3 separate regions of the Homo sapiens genome follow, and all the other regions are linked to region 2. Evidence: promoter capture Hi-C in 16 types of primary human blood cells and fetal thymus (Javierre and others, 2016). All regions are on one chromosome and are shown on one strand. Each heading gives the region's core, a stretch centred on a gene start or on the middle of the fragment in contact. The rest is flanking DNA. Distances are from core to core; before and after follow the strand shown.

Region 1 (3,927 bases), core at 1,106-3,605, 1.9 Mb before region 2:
GAACTGCTGAGTTTTATACTAAGATCCTATTCTACATCATTGGTGTACCTTTTCATCATTGGTGTGCTTTTTCTTCCTTCTCCTAACCTCAATATCCAGAAAGAATTTTGGAATAAAGCACTATGGGTTTGTCTTGCTCCTTAAACTTAATTTCCTGGGGGTGAATCTTGGTTTATTCTGAGTTACTTCGAGGTGGAAAAATTGAACTTCCGGAGATAGCTTTTTTTAATCATTAAGAAATTACACATGATAAAATGAATAGGTAACAGTACAGTTTTTCAGAACCGTTTCTTTTGCTAGATTTTTACTTTTCTTCTTCCCTTTATATACCCCTATAGCACAATCCCTAGTAGGTTGATTAAGGGCATAGGCTTACTGTCAAATTCCCTGGGATGGAATCTAAGTCCACTGTGGTCCTTAAGGAAGTAACTTAACTTCATTACACCTCAATTTTTAAAATCTGTATAATGGAGGTTATAATATTGCTTAGTGTATAGAGTTGCTGTGTGGTTTAAATGAGATAATATATGTAAATTACTTAGCACAGGGTCTGGTATTTAGAAAATGTTCAAAATGTTTTAGTATTGTATAATTGTTGATAATTATTGATAATTTCTGAGAATCTGTTTACCCTTCCATTCTTTTAAATGATAGTTTAGTGTTTTCTGATATAGTTTTTCTACATATGCTTATATTCTATATTCAGAATTTAATTTTCAGTTTTATTGCAGGTATGAACTAAACTGTAGTTAAATTTCAATATTTAAACATTGCACTTTAATTTTCAGTAAGAAATGGTTAATATGTAATTTTTAATATCTAAAATTATTTATTCTAGAGTTTTCAAATTAGAAACCAAAATAGCCCATAATATAGGAATTTTTTTTTTTAGAGTTTAAAATCTGAAGTTAAGAGAATTTATGAGGGCTGCCACTGAAGTATAAACAATAAGAGGGCAGGAATCATTACATCTTCAGTATCCAAAATAGGGCTTAGCAAATAGTGGGTGGTCAGTGGAAGTTTGTGGAATATTATAAATGAATTTTGTGAACATAGATCCTTGTTTCAAGCTTTGGTTTCCTTACTGCATTTTAGCTGTTTTTTCAGTATGTTTTAAGCTACTTTTAAAGATTTTTTTTAAAGACCAGTTGGCAACAGACATTTTTAAATACACAAAAATAATGAGAAATGCGGTTTGCGTGAAACTTGATGTGGCCTCCCAGCTCAGTTGAGGCTTGAATGTGAGAGATTATGTGTTTATCCCTCCAGCGTGGGCTGAGAAACCACAGGGAGATGTGTCATAGCTTAGTTCTTTATTTCAAATGAGAATTCCTACTATAGTGAAATGTACGAACAAAAACAATCTAGTACTACATACAAATAATTTTGTATCTTTGATATATTCATTCCTCCAAAGTTCTTTCTTAATTTATTAAGTGGAACTTAGTAAGAATCAGTTGTATTCAGATTCTAACTCTTAAAGAGCCTTAATCCTGGCCGGGCACAGTGGCTCATGCCTGTAATCCTAACACTTTGGGAGGCCAAGATGGGTGGATTGCTTGAGGCCAGGAGTTCAAAACCAGCCTGGCCAACTTGGTGAAACCCTGTCTCTACTAAAAATACAAAAAATTAGCCGGGTGTGGTGGTAGGTGCCTGTAGTCCCAACTACTGGGGAGTCTGAGGCAGGAGAATCGCATGAACCTGGGAGGCGGAGGTTGCAGTGAGCCAAGATAGCACCACTGCACTCCAGCCTGGGCAACAAGAGCGAAACTTCGTCTCAAAAAAAAAAAAAAAAAAAAAAAAGAACCTTAATCTTGAGATGTACAAATTGTCTGTTTTGAATACTCAAATTCATTTTCTTCTGTCATATAATGGGTTTTGTTACCTTTATTTTTTATCGTACAGATTATGGAGTTTTTTCCACAGTTCTTGCTTATTCATGTTGATATTTTCAAAAGATCACCTCTTCTTGCTCCTTCTAAGTCTTTCTAGGCCCTTGTCCCTCCCACTATGTTAAGACCAAAACAGAATTGTCTGGGAGAAACTAATGTCTGTCATTTTCTTTATAGTCTTTAGCAAAAGAAGTTAGAATTATCTTAGGCTATTCTAGAATTTCACAACCTTGCTATTAGGAACCCTTTACATCTGCTGAATTCCTCATTAACTTAAATCATTTCCTCTTTTTCTGGAATTCTGGAATTGGCCAGTTTCCTCAAAATTCCTTTATATACTTTATGCAATAAGTATTCCTGTTTAAATGTAAATTGAAACATGGTATATTCTAAATGTATTAGGGAACTTTTCTTTGAAGACTTCCTTTCGTAAAGCCAATAATTACCCGTTAATTATGTTTTATGTTTGTTTTCTTTTTGGTTGTTAGTGGTAGTTTTTTGTTTTTGTTTTTTTTTTTTCTAGATTTAGCTTTTCAAATACATGGTCTGCTTAAAACAGGGTATACTTAGAAGTGACTTCTGAAGTCATTTTTAAACTTTCTCTTCTGTGGGTTAAGATGCACTGATACAAGCAGTAATTGGAGGTTTCCTGCACTGAATATTAAGTTGTTTCTTTTCTAAAAATGAAAACAACTTCAGTCTCTTTTAGAATGTACCGTAATCTCTACTGAGTAGAGGGGTTGTTAAAGATAACATTAAATCTCATTACGTTAACTGTACTTTCTTTGTGCCTAAAACCTGGTTTCACTTTACCCCCCTTCTTGTGTGCTGCAGCTGGTGGATAGCGAGGTGGTCATGCTTTCTGCGCACTGGGAGAAGAAAAAGACAAGCCTCGTGGAGCTGCAAGAGCAGCTCCAGCAGCTCCCAGCTTTAATCGCAGACTTAGAATCCATGACAGCAAATCTGAGTAAGTCCAATGTTTTCATTGTACATTACTTTTAGGAATGAAAACAACTTGGGCAGGGTTTGGTGTAATTTCAGAGCTTTTCAGGAACACATGAAATTCTGGGTTAACAGGATTTTTTGGAAAATCATGATTTCATATTTTGATTAGTTGAGGATTCCACAGAAAATGATGTAAAGTGTAGAAATTAGTTCTGTTTCTGCCTCAGGTCAGCTCCGGACACATAATTATAATTATGTTGATTCTTAAAGTGACTCAGGTTGTCTTTGTTGACATTTGGTCTCTGTTTAAAAGCATACATATAGAAAATGGATTAGGTGACTTTGTCCTTACTGTAGAATGTATTCCAGAAATTGTTGCTTTTAAAATTTAGATATGCTAGAACTTCATGTCTTGTAGTGTATTTTTTTCTCTTCAAACGGATTGGAGATCAAACAAACCTGGTTAAATGAGGGTACTTGTGCTGGGTGTGGTGGCACGTGCCTGCAGTTGCAGCTATTCTGGAGACTGAGGCAGGAGGAGTGCTTGAGCCCAGGAGTTTGAATCCAGCCTGGGCAACATAGTGAGACCTTGTCTCAAACAACAACAACAACAAAGTAAATTAGGGTACCTGTTTGGCTAAATTTATACTCTGTGGAAATTTATTTTTTTGTCGTTGTTCATTTGGATGGATTATGTTGGTATTCTTTTTTTCTTGGGTTTATATTCAGAAAATTATCTTTTATGTTTGATGATGCCACATCTAAGGATAATATTGCAGCTTACTATTTCCTAATCAAGCTTAAGATCTTAGTAAAGTAGGAGGTAGGAGCTGTCTGTATGAGCTAATAACCTGTTTTAGTCTTTTAGGTGGGAAGCTAAAGATACCCTATTATCTCCTCCTGTTTTTAATATTGCCTTATTCAAAGCAAAACATGACTGATTTACAAGGCAAGTAATTGGCAAGTCATAAGACAGTTTTTTGTGTGTGAACAAAATAGATACGTAGTATTTGGAGTGCTGTTGCTGATAACAGTAGCTAATGTTTATAGCACCTACTGTATGTCAGAGATGATTAGATGATTTACAGAT
Region 2 (3,722 bases), core at 607-3,106:
TTCAGCTGTTCCTAAGATACGGAAAGTTCTAGATAGTTCCTAAGTGTGCTGACAGAAAAAAAGTACATCTTCAAAAGTGTTTCAAGAAAGTTTAATGACGTCTGGAGCCCATTTATTCTAACATGGCTATCGTACATTTAAATAGAGCTTGGCTTACATTGAACTCATTGTTACTGTAATATAAATGAAAGTGTTAGAACACTGTAAATACAGTGACATCATGTGATTCAAAGTGCAGTGGTTTAAAAAAAGTCATCAAACAACAGGTTAAAATTAATGGATATTTCTATCAAACTACAACAGAGGCCAGGCATGGTGGCTCACGCCTGTAATCCCAGCACTTTGGGAGGCTGAGGCGGGTAGATCACTTGAGGTCGGGAGTTCGAGACCAGCCTGGCCAACATGGTGAAACCCCGTCTCCACTACAAGTACAAAAATTAGCTGGGTGTGAGCACATGCCTGTAGTCCCAGCTACTTGGGAGGCTGAGGCAGGAGAATCGCTTGAACCCGGGAGGCGGAAGTTGTAGTGAGCTGAGACCACACAACTGCACTCCAGCCTGGGCGACAAAACAATAATAATAATAATAATAAAAGTACAACAGAACATCTAGTTGTCTGGGTAACTGAGGGAGAAATTAGGCCGAATGACTCTGTTATTTGTTCTGGCCAGATAATCTTGGCCTTAAATTAAATCACCTTTGGCCTACCTTCTTCAAAACGAAATAATTTTCTCTTCGGCAAAACATTTCTTATTTGACCAAATGATTACCATCATATCTTTGGAAGCAAACAAAATATCAGAATTTACATCACACAATTTACATATGCAAAGCCTGATTTTGCCAGCTAGGGAGGGATAAGCTAAACAAAGGGAAGTGGTGAAAACAAAGTAGTAATGTTATGATGGGTCAGAGAGCAACACTTGGCAAGTTGTGCCAAATTAGTCGACGAAGCATTCTATTGGGAATTGCAAAGTAGGAAGTCCTATTTTTGACTCTGCTGATCTCGGTAAATATTTCCTTGTTTTAAAAATGGGCATAATTTTCTGTTACCTAAGAACCCTGTTATGAAAATTAACGAGTCTATAAAATGTTCTGACGTCTCTAGAAGCCCTTCCTAAACACACACTATAATCTTGTATTCATACAGTGCCTGCTCCTGCTTTTTGAAGATATGCCGGTCTTTATTAATGACATCTTCTACCACTGTTAAGTTCACTGTGAGTCCTCGTAAAATTAATTAATGAAACAGTCACTATTCTAAGTGGGAGACTGCCTTCAGAAGTGGTTTCTACTGCCCATATGGTCAATGCTACGGAATTAAACACTGAAGTACCAAAGGCAATGCGTTCCTCTTTGGAGGGAGGCGGCAAACGGGAACGGGACTGAGGCGAGAGCTAGCAGCACTGCGCGGGGAGCCTGAGCCGCTCCGCACGCCCCGGGCCGACGGGTCCTAGAGCGCCCCGGGGCCTGGGCTCGCGGCGGCCCCAGCGGGGCTCGATTACTCTCGCCTGGACGAGAAGCGGCGCCTCGGCTCCGAGGAGCCCTACGGTGGGGAGGTGGGGCGACGACAACAAAAAGAAGTCAAGTGGGAGGGGATTCGCCGGCGAGGGGGGCGACGGCGGCCGCCAAGGGAGAGGAGGCGGACACCTCCGAAGGGACCTGCGGCGCCGGGAGCCCAGCGATCCTGCCCACGAGCGACTGGCGGGCCCGGGAGGACGCCTCGCGGCGCACAGCCGGGAGCCCCGCGGCCCGCCCCCTCGCACCGCTCGCGCCTCTCTCGCGCCTCCGTCCCGCCCCCTCGCCTAGCGCCGCCCGCGCGCAGCGTCTCGCGCCGGCCCGGCCCGCCCGCCGGGAAACAGCCGCGAGAGCAGCGGCCGCGGCGGCCGCCAGCGCGCCTTCCCCTCCCGCGCTCCCGCGTCGCCCCCGCCCTCGGCGCCTCGTCCCCGGGCCGCGCGCCCGCGCTCCGGCCAACGTTCTCTCCCGGCCTCCCGGGCCCGCCGCCTACTCCCGCGTCTCCGAGCTCCTCAACCGCCGCGGTCTCCCTGGGCGCGCGGCCCGCCGCCTGCTTCCGGGGCGGGCGGACTGGGCGCCTGGTGCCGGCGGCCGCAGCGACAGCGCCCCCGGGAAGCAGAGGAGGAAGGAGAGAAGAGGTGGAGGTGGCCGCAGGCTGAGTCGCGGCCGGGATGTCCGGGCAGCCGCCGCCGCCGCCGCCGCAGCAGCAGCAACAGCAGCAGCAGCTGTCGCCGCCACCGCCGGCGGCCTTGGCCCCAGTCTCCGGAGTCGTCCTGCCGGCGCCCCCGGCCGTCAGCGCCGGCTCTTCTCCGGCCGGCTCGCCCGGCGGCGGTGCGGGCGGCGAAGGCTTAGGGGCCGCGGCGGCCGCCCTGCTCCTCCACCCTCCGCCGCCGCCGCCCCCGGCCACCGCGGCCCCGCCGCCCCCGCCGCCGCCCCCGCCTCCCCCTGCCTCAGCGGCTGCCCCCGCCAGCGGGCCGCCCGCTCCCCCGGGCCTTGCAGCGGGCCCCGGCCCGGCTGGAGGAGCCCCGACCCCAGCTCTGGTGGCGGGCAGCAGCGCCGCGGCCCCCTTCCCTCACGGGGACTCGGCCCTGAACGAGCAGGAGAAGGAGTTGCAGCGGCGGCTGAAGCGTCTCTACCCGGCCGTGGACGAACAAGAGACGCCGCTGCCTCGGTCCTGGAGCCCGAAGGACAAGTTCAGCTACATCGGCCTCTCTCAGAACAACCTGCGGGTGCACTACAAAGGTACTGGGCGTGTGTCCTGCGGTGGGAGTGGGGCACTGACCCGACGTGGCCGGCCGCCGCTGCGCCGCTCTCGACCCGCCCCCGACCCCCGCCCTCGCGGGCTCTGCCCTCGGAGGCCACTCGCCGCCTGTTGTGCTGCTCCGGGTGGGCGCGGGGGTCGCGGTGAAGGGTCCGAGGGTGAGGGGCGAGATTCTTGGAAAAGGAAGGTGAGTAGAATGCCCCAGGGTAGAAAGGAGCTGGTAATCCTAGACCAGGAGCAGGACACCTTGAGGGAATCCGGGATGACAGGACAGAACTGGCTTTCTGATTTCCCTGGGAGATAAATCTTGGGGCTTGGGTAGAGGAATCCATGGACTCGGAGTTGGGTTACATTGTTCTCCAGGTGGTGGGTCAGGCGTTCTCCTCTTACAAGGGGGGAAGAGAGGCACGATTCTGAGGTATGATTTCTAATTAAGAGAGAGCAGGGATACACAGGGGGAGGAGTAATCAAAATTAGGCCAGAGATTGTCTAGGGGGACAAAAGGACAAGGGGCCCAAGTTTGCCATCAATATATTTTAGTAAAAGCAACCGGGAGGGTAAGAGAAGGGAACCCCAGGAACACCCTTTTTCTTAGGGGAGCAGAAACCTACCCCTCCCGATTGGAAGTGCCCTATACAGGTCCTTAGGTGTTGATATCACATGAAGTCTTGTTGAAAACGAAGATGGAACAAAATGCAGCTTAGTATTTTGAAGAAAATTGGCTTATGTTTTGCACTTGCAGTTAAAAACAACAACCTTAGGCTTGTGCTTGCCCCTTTCCTCCCTCACCTACCTCTCCTAGGTTAAAACAAAGCTGGAAGCAAATCAGTTGTATATAAAATTATGAATTGCTATGGGAACTATTGAAATGTAGCCCAATTTAATAGCATGTATCAAGTTTACTTGTGTGGAAGAAAAAAAAATCAACCTAACGTATCAGTCTTGTC
Region 3 (4,174 bases), core at 1,675-4,174, 2.0 Mb before region 2:
TTCCGACCTTGATATTCTCTAACTACCCCCTTCTCTCCTGTTCTTCAGCTGCGTTCTAATCTTTACTCTCTGAGGTTGGAACTCTCCTCCTTCACCTCCCTGATTTCTGTCTCTGCTTTTCTTTTCAAAATGCTGTGCTGATATCACCTTTCCAGCTTTATCTAGCTTACCTCATTCTTAAAAATACTCATTGCTTCACGAGAAACATTTACAGCTTTTACATGGATTCTTCTGTAACCATTAAACTCTTAAAAATTAAAGATATCAAAAATATTTACATGTTGGCTTTTTAAAAACATCACAAATAATAACAACACACTGTAAATATCTTTACAAATCTAAGTCAGGTTCCTGCAAAGCAATTAACCATAGTCCCTTTCCAATTACTCTAAAAGAGCTCTGCCAATGAAATGGTATGAACTTTTCTGGGTTCTACAGCCCCTTCTTTTTTTTCCTGCTTTTTTTTTATTATTATTATACTTTAAGTTTTAGGGTACATGTGCCAAGTTGGTGTGCTGCACCCATTAACTCGTCATTTAACATTAGGTATATCTCCTAATGCTATCCCTCCCGCCTCCCTCCACCCCACAACAGGCCCCAGTGTATGATGTTCCCCTTCCTGTGTCCATGTGTTCTCACTGTTCAATTCCCACCAATGAGTGAGAACATGCGGTGTTTGGTTTTTTGTCCTTGCGATAGTTTGCCGAGAATAATGGTTTCCAGCTTCATCCATGTCCCTACAAAGGACATGAACTCATCATTTTTTTCACTGCATAGTATTCCATGGTGTATATGTGCCACGTTTTCTTAATCCAGTCTATCATTGTTGGACATTTGGGTTGGTTCCAAGTCTTTGCTATTGCGAATAGTGCCACAATAAACATATGTGTTCATGTGTCTTTATAGCAGCATGATTTACAGTCCTTTGGGTATATACCCAGTAATGGGATGGCTGGGTCAAATGGTATTTCTAGTTCTAGATCCCTGAGGAATCGCCACACTGACTTCCACAATGGTTGAACTAGTTTACAGTCCCACCAACAGTGTAAAAGTGTTCCTATTTCTCCACATTCTCTCCAGCACCTGTTGTTTCCTGACTTTTTAGTGATCGCCATTCTAACTGGTGTGAGATGGTATCTCATTGTGGTTTTGATTTGCATTTCTCTGATGGTCAGCGATGATGAGCATTTTTTCATGTGTCTTTTGGCTGCATAAATGTCTTCTTTTGAGAAGTGTCTGTTCACATCCTTTGCCCACTTGTTGATGGGGTTGTTTTTTTCTTGTAAATTTGTTTGAGTTCATTGTAGATTCTGGATATTAGCCCTTTGTCCGATGAGTAGATTGCAAAAATTTTCTCCCATTCTGTAGGTTGCCTGTTCGCTCTGATGGTGGTTTCTTTCGTACCACCCCTTCTTTAATAGCATCTTTCTCTTTGGTTCTAACTCCGCCAAATCCTCATTTATCACTTTGTCTCCAATAAGAATCTGCTGAGACAGGAAACCCCCTTTCATCAACGAGTAGGGCTTCTCAAATGTTAACATGAATAAAAATCACCCGGGGGGTCTTAATAAAACTCAGATTCTGATTCAGTAGGGCTGGCTGGGGCCTACGATTCTACCTTTGCAGGAAGCTCCCAGATGATGCGGCTGCTGCTGGTCAGGGAAGCACTATTTCAGGAAACTTCTTAGCAGCTTTGGTGCTCACCCCAAACGTTGTATCACCAAAGCTTTTCCTGGGCGCAACTAATATGCTCTCAAAAAATCAACTCTCTGCTGGGCGCGGTGGCTCATGCCTGTAATCCCAGCATTTTGGGAGGCCAAGGCAGGCGGATCACTTGAGGTCAGGAGTTTGAGACCAGCCTGTCCAACATAGTGAAACCTTGTCTCTACTAAAAATACAAAAATTAGCTGGGCGTGGTGGCGGAAGCCTGTAATCCCAGCTACCCAGGAGGCTGAGGCAGGAGAATCACTTGAACCCAGGAGGTGGAGGCTACAGTGAGCCAAGATTGCACCACTGCACTCCAGCCTAGGTGACAGAGGGAGACTCCGTCTTAAAACAAAACAAACAAAAAAACCCCAAACAAACAACAATCAACTCTCAACCAATTCCTGAATTAAGATTAGGTCAATAGCTTCCATACTGATGTTGGTTCTCAAACTGTACTTAAAAGCTTTGTTTTTTTTTTCATTTTGCCAATCCATCTTCCTAGTTTCTGGCTGATTACTGTTACTTATGTAAACACGACATGTCACATGCTTCAACTCTTGGTCCTTAATCATTCCTCCTGAGCAACTCATGTACAACAGTAGTTATTTTCTAATTTTTTTAATATTTACTTCTTTAAATCATAAATTATCTTTTTATTAGCACTTTTAAAACTTTCACTGTTTTTTAATTTAATAGATATGATGGAATTAAGAATGTTCAGAAAGCACCTCAAATACAAACATGCCATAGACTAATAAACAGTGCATTGGTCAAGACAGAAATGATCAGGCACAACCAGTAAAGCTATTTTTTAGTGACAGGCAAGAGTCTTTTTTGAGTGGATTTGGTGCTTTGTTGGAATGTATGAAACTTAGTAAATTGAAAGCTTATGTGTAGAGTTTAATTGAATAAAAGAAAAAAATTTAATATTTCCCAGTACTTGTGGTTTTCAAATCTACTAGATACTAAGGGACCTGTCTGTAGATTTGATCATTTGATCACTTGCTTTGTTCCAGGCACTGTTTCTGAGAGGTAGAAGAAGGCTCAATAAACAGCACTCCTCTTTCTTACTTGTCTGAGCAAACTGAGAAATAAAACAATAGTGTCAGCATAAAGAGGCCAAAATATCACTTTTATATCTAGGAAGACTGATGGAACACATGGCTTATATTCATGGGCAAGCAGAACTTCTAGTACCCAGTCACAAAAAGCACTGGGTTGCCCTTCAAGCCTGTCTTTAGGCAGCAGAATGAATGCTCTTTGTTGGAAGTGTTCACTCAACAAAAAGAAAAGAAGATGAGACCAAGCTCCTTACTTCTAGCTCACTAATCATCGTAGTCACCTCTTCCCCACCAGGAGAGGCTGGGTACTTCTTTATGTTAGCAGAAGAGCTCCCTTCCCATGGAAGAAAACATCAAGAGTGGGGAAGAGGTGGTCCCCCAGCTACAAGCTAAGTCCTTTATCTTATTTAACTCCTGCAACAAGACATTTACTGGGTGTCTGTTATGTGCCATTCACTGTTTTCATTGCTGGGGATGCAAAGCTTAATAAGACAGAGCAGTTTACATCTGGGCCTGTACTTGTGCTACTTACCTCACTGGCCTCATCCAATCCCAGCCCTAACAGATCCTGTGTATTTAAAATTTTGATATTTTGTTCATCACAGATTTTTTTTCATTAATTTTGAATTTTTTAAATATTGTATTAAAATATTACTTATCTTGATTACTGAGCTTTTTGGCTCCCGTAAATTTTGTACCTGAGGTGAATGCCTTATTTGTCGTGGTTTTAAAATATGTTTGTAAACAACTAAATTAATAAATAGCAAATAATTATTGAATAAATTTTCTAATGTGTACTAAGTTGAGAAACAGGCTACGTGATAGGAAGTGATTGGGTGTGTAACTTGAATGGTAAGTAAAACCTATCTAATGTGATGCTATTTAGGATGTGACCCTTATGTTATAAGGAGCCAGACAAGGGACAGTTTGGAGAAAAGTTTGTGAAAACACCACAGGTGGAAATAAACCTGGAATTTTCTAAGAACACACCAAAAAAAAAAAAAAAAAAAAGGCTATTATGTCTTAATTGTCAAGGACATGATAGGTGACTAGTAATCAATTTGGATACAGTGCTAGAAAACATTCAAATTTTAGGGCTTTTTAAGGGGGTAAGTAGTTTGAATTTTATTCCAAGTGCCCAGGAGGCAATTGGAAGATTTTAAGCAGGGGAGCAACGTGATCCGATTGATCTTTTAAATAACTCTTTCTGGCTGCTGTGTCAAGGATGGATTATAGGGGTGTGTATGGCAAAAGAGTAGAATCTGGAAGAACTGTCTGTGTTCCCATTGAAAGAGGATGGTGCCTTCGACCAGGATAAATATAGTGAAGATATAGAAAGAGAAGGAGGTTCCAGAAATACTTCAGGAGTAGAGTTGATTGGATTTGATGGGTTAATATGGGGAATG

What was found. Contacts are between HindIII fragments. The CHiCAGO score rates a contact against its expected background, and 5 or more counts as called.
Region 1: a fragment that was not itself captured here is called in contact with the fragment with the promoter of RANBP9 in region 2 in 5 of 17 cell types (activated CD4 T cells, naive B cells, total CD4 T cells and 2 more); the score reaches 8.7 in activated CD4 T cells.
Region 3: a contact is called between a fragment that was not itself captured here and the fragment with the promoter of RANBP9 in region 2, in 4 of 17 cell types (fetal thymus, total B cells, activated CD4 T cells and 1 more). The highest score is 10.0, in fetal thymus.

The regions. Positions count from the first base shown.
Region 1 is chr6:15,626,275-15,630,201 of GRCh38, reverse strand. DTNBP1 (dystrobrevin binding protein 1) reads left to right here. Exons shown (of 10, transcript NM_032122.5): 5 at 2,727-2,859. Among named protein-coding and RNA genes, the nearest start is that of DTNBP1, 35 kb to the left of the region's middle. The HindIII fragment of the contact is 2,566 bases long and covers 1,073-3,638 here.
Region 2 is chr6:13,709,969-13,713,690 of GRCh38, reverse strand. It overlaps RANBP9 (RAN binding protein 9), which reads left to right and starts at 1,856. Exons shown (of 14, transcript NM_005493.3): 1 at 1,856-2,756. The coding sequence starts at 2,186. LOC124901264 (a long non-coding RNA gene) reads left to right here and starts at 937. Exons shown (of 2, transcript XR_007059462.1): 1 at 937-1,008; 2 at 1,150-1,339. RefSeq lists silencers at 1,352-2,121, 2,282-2,401, 2,482-2,531, 2,792-2,911. The HindIII fragment of the contact is 8,985 bases long and covers 1-3,722 here.
Region 3 is chr6:15,664,081-15,668,254 of GRCh38, reverse strand. No RefSeq gene overlaps it. Among named protein-coding and RNA genes, the nearest start is that of DTNBP1, 3.1 kb to the right of the region's middle. The HindIII fragment of the contact is 657 bases long and covers 2,596-3,252 here.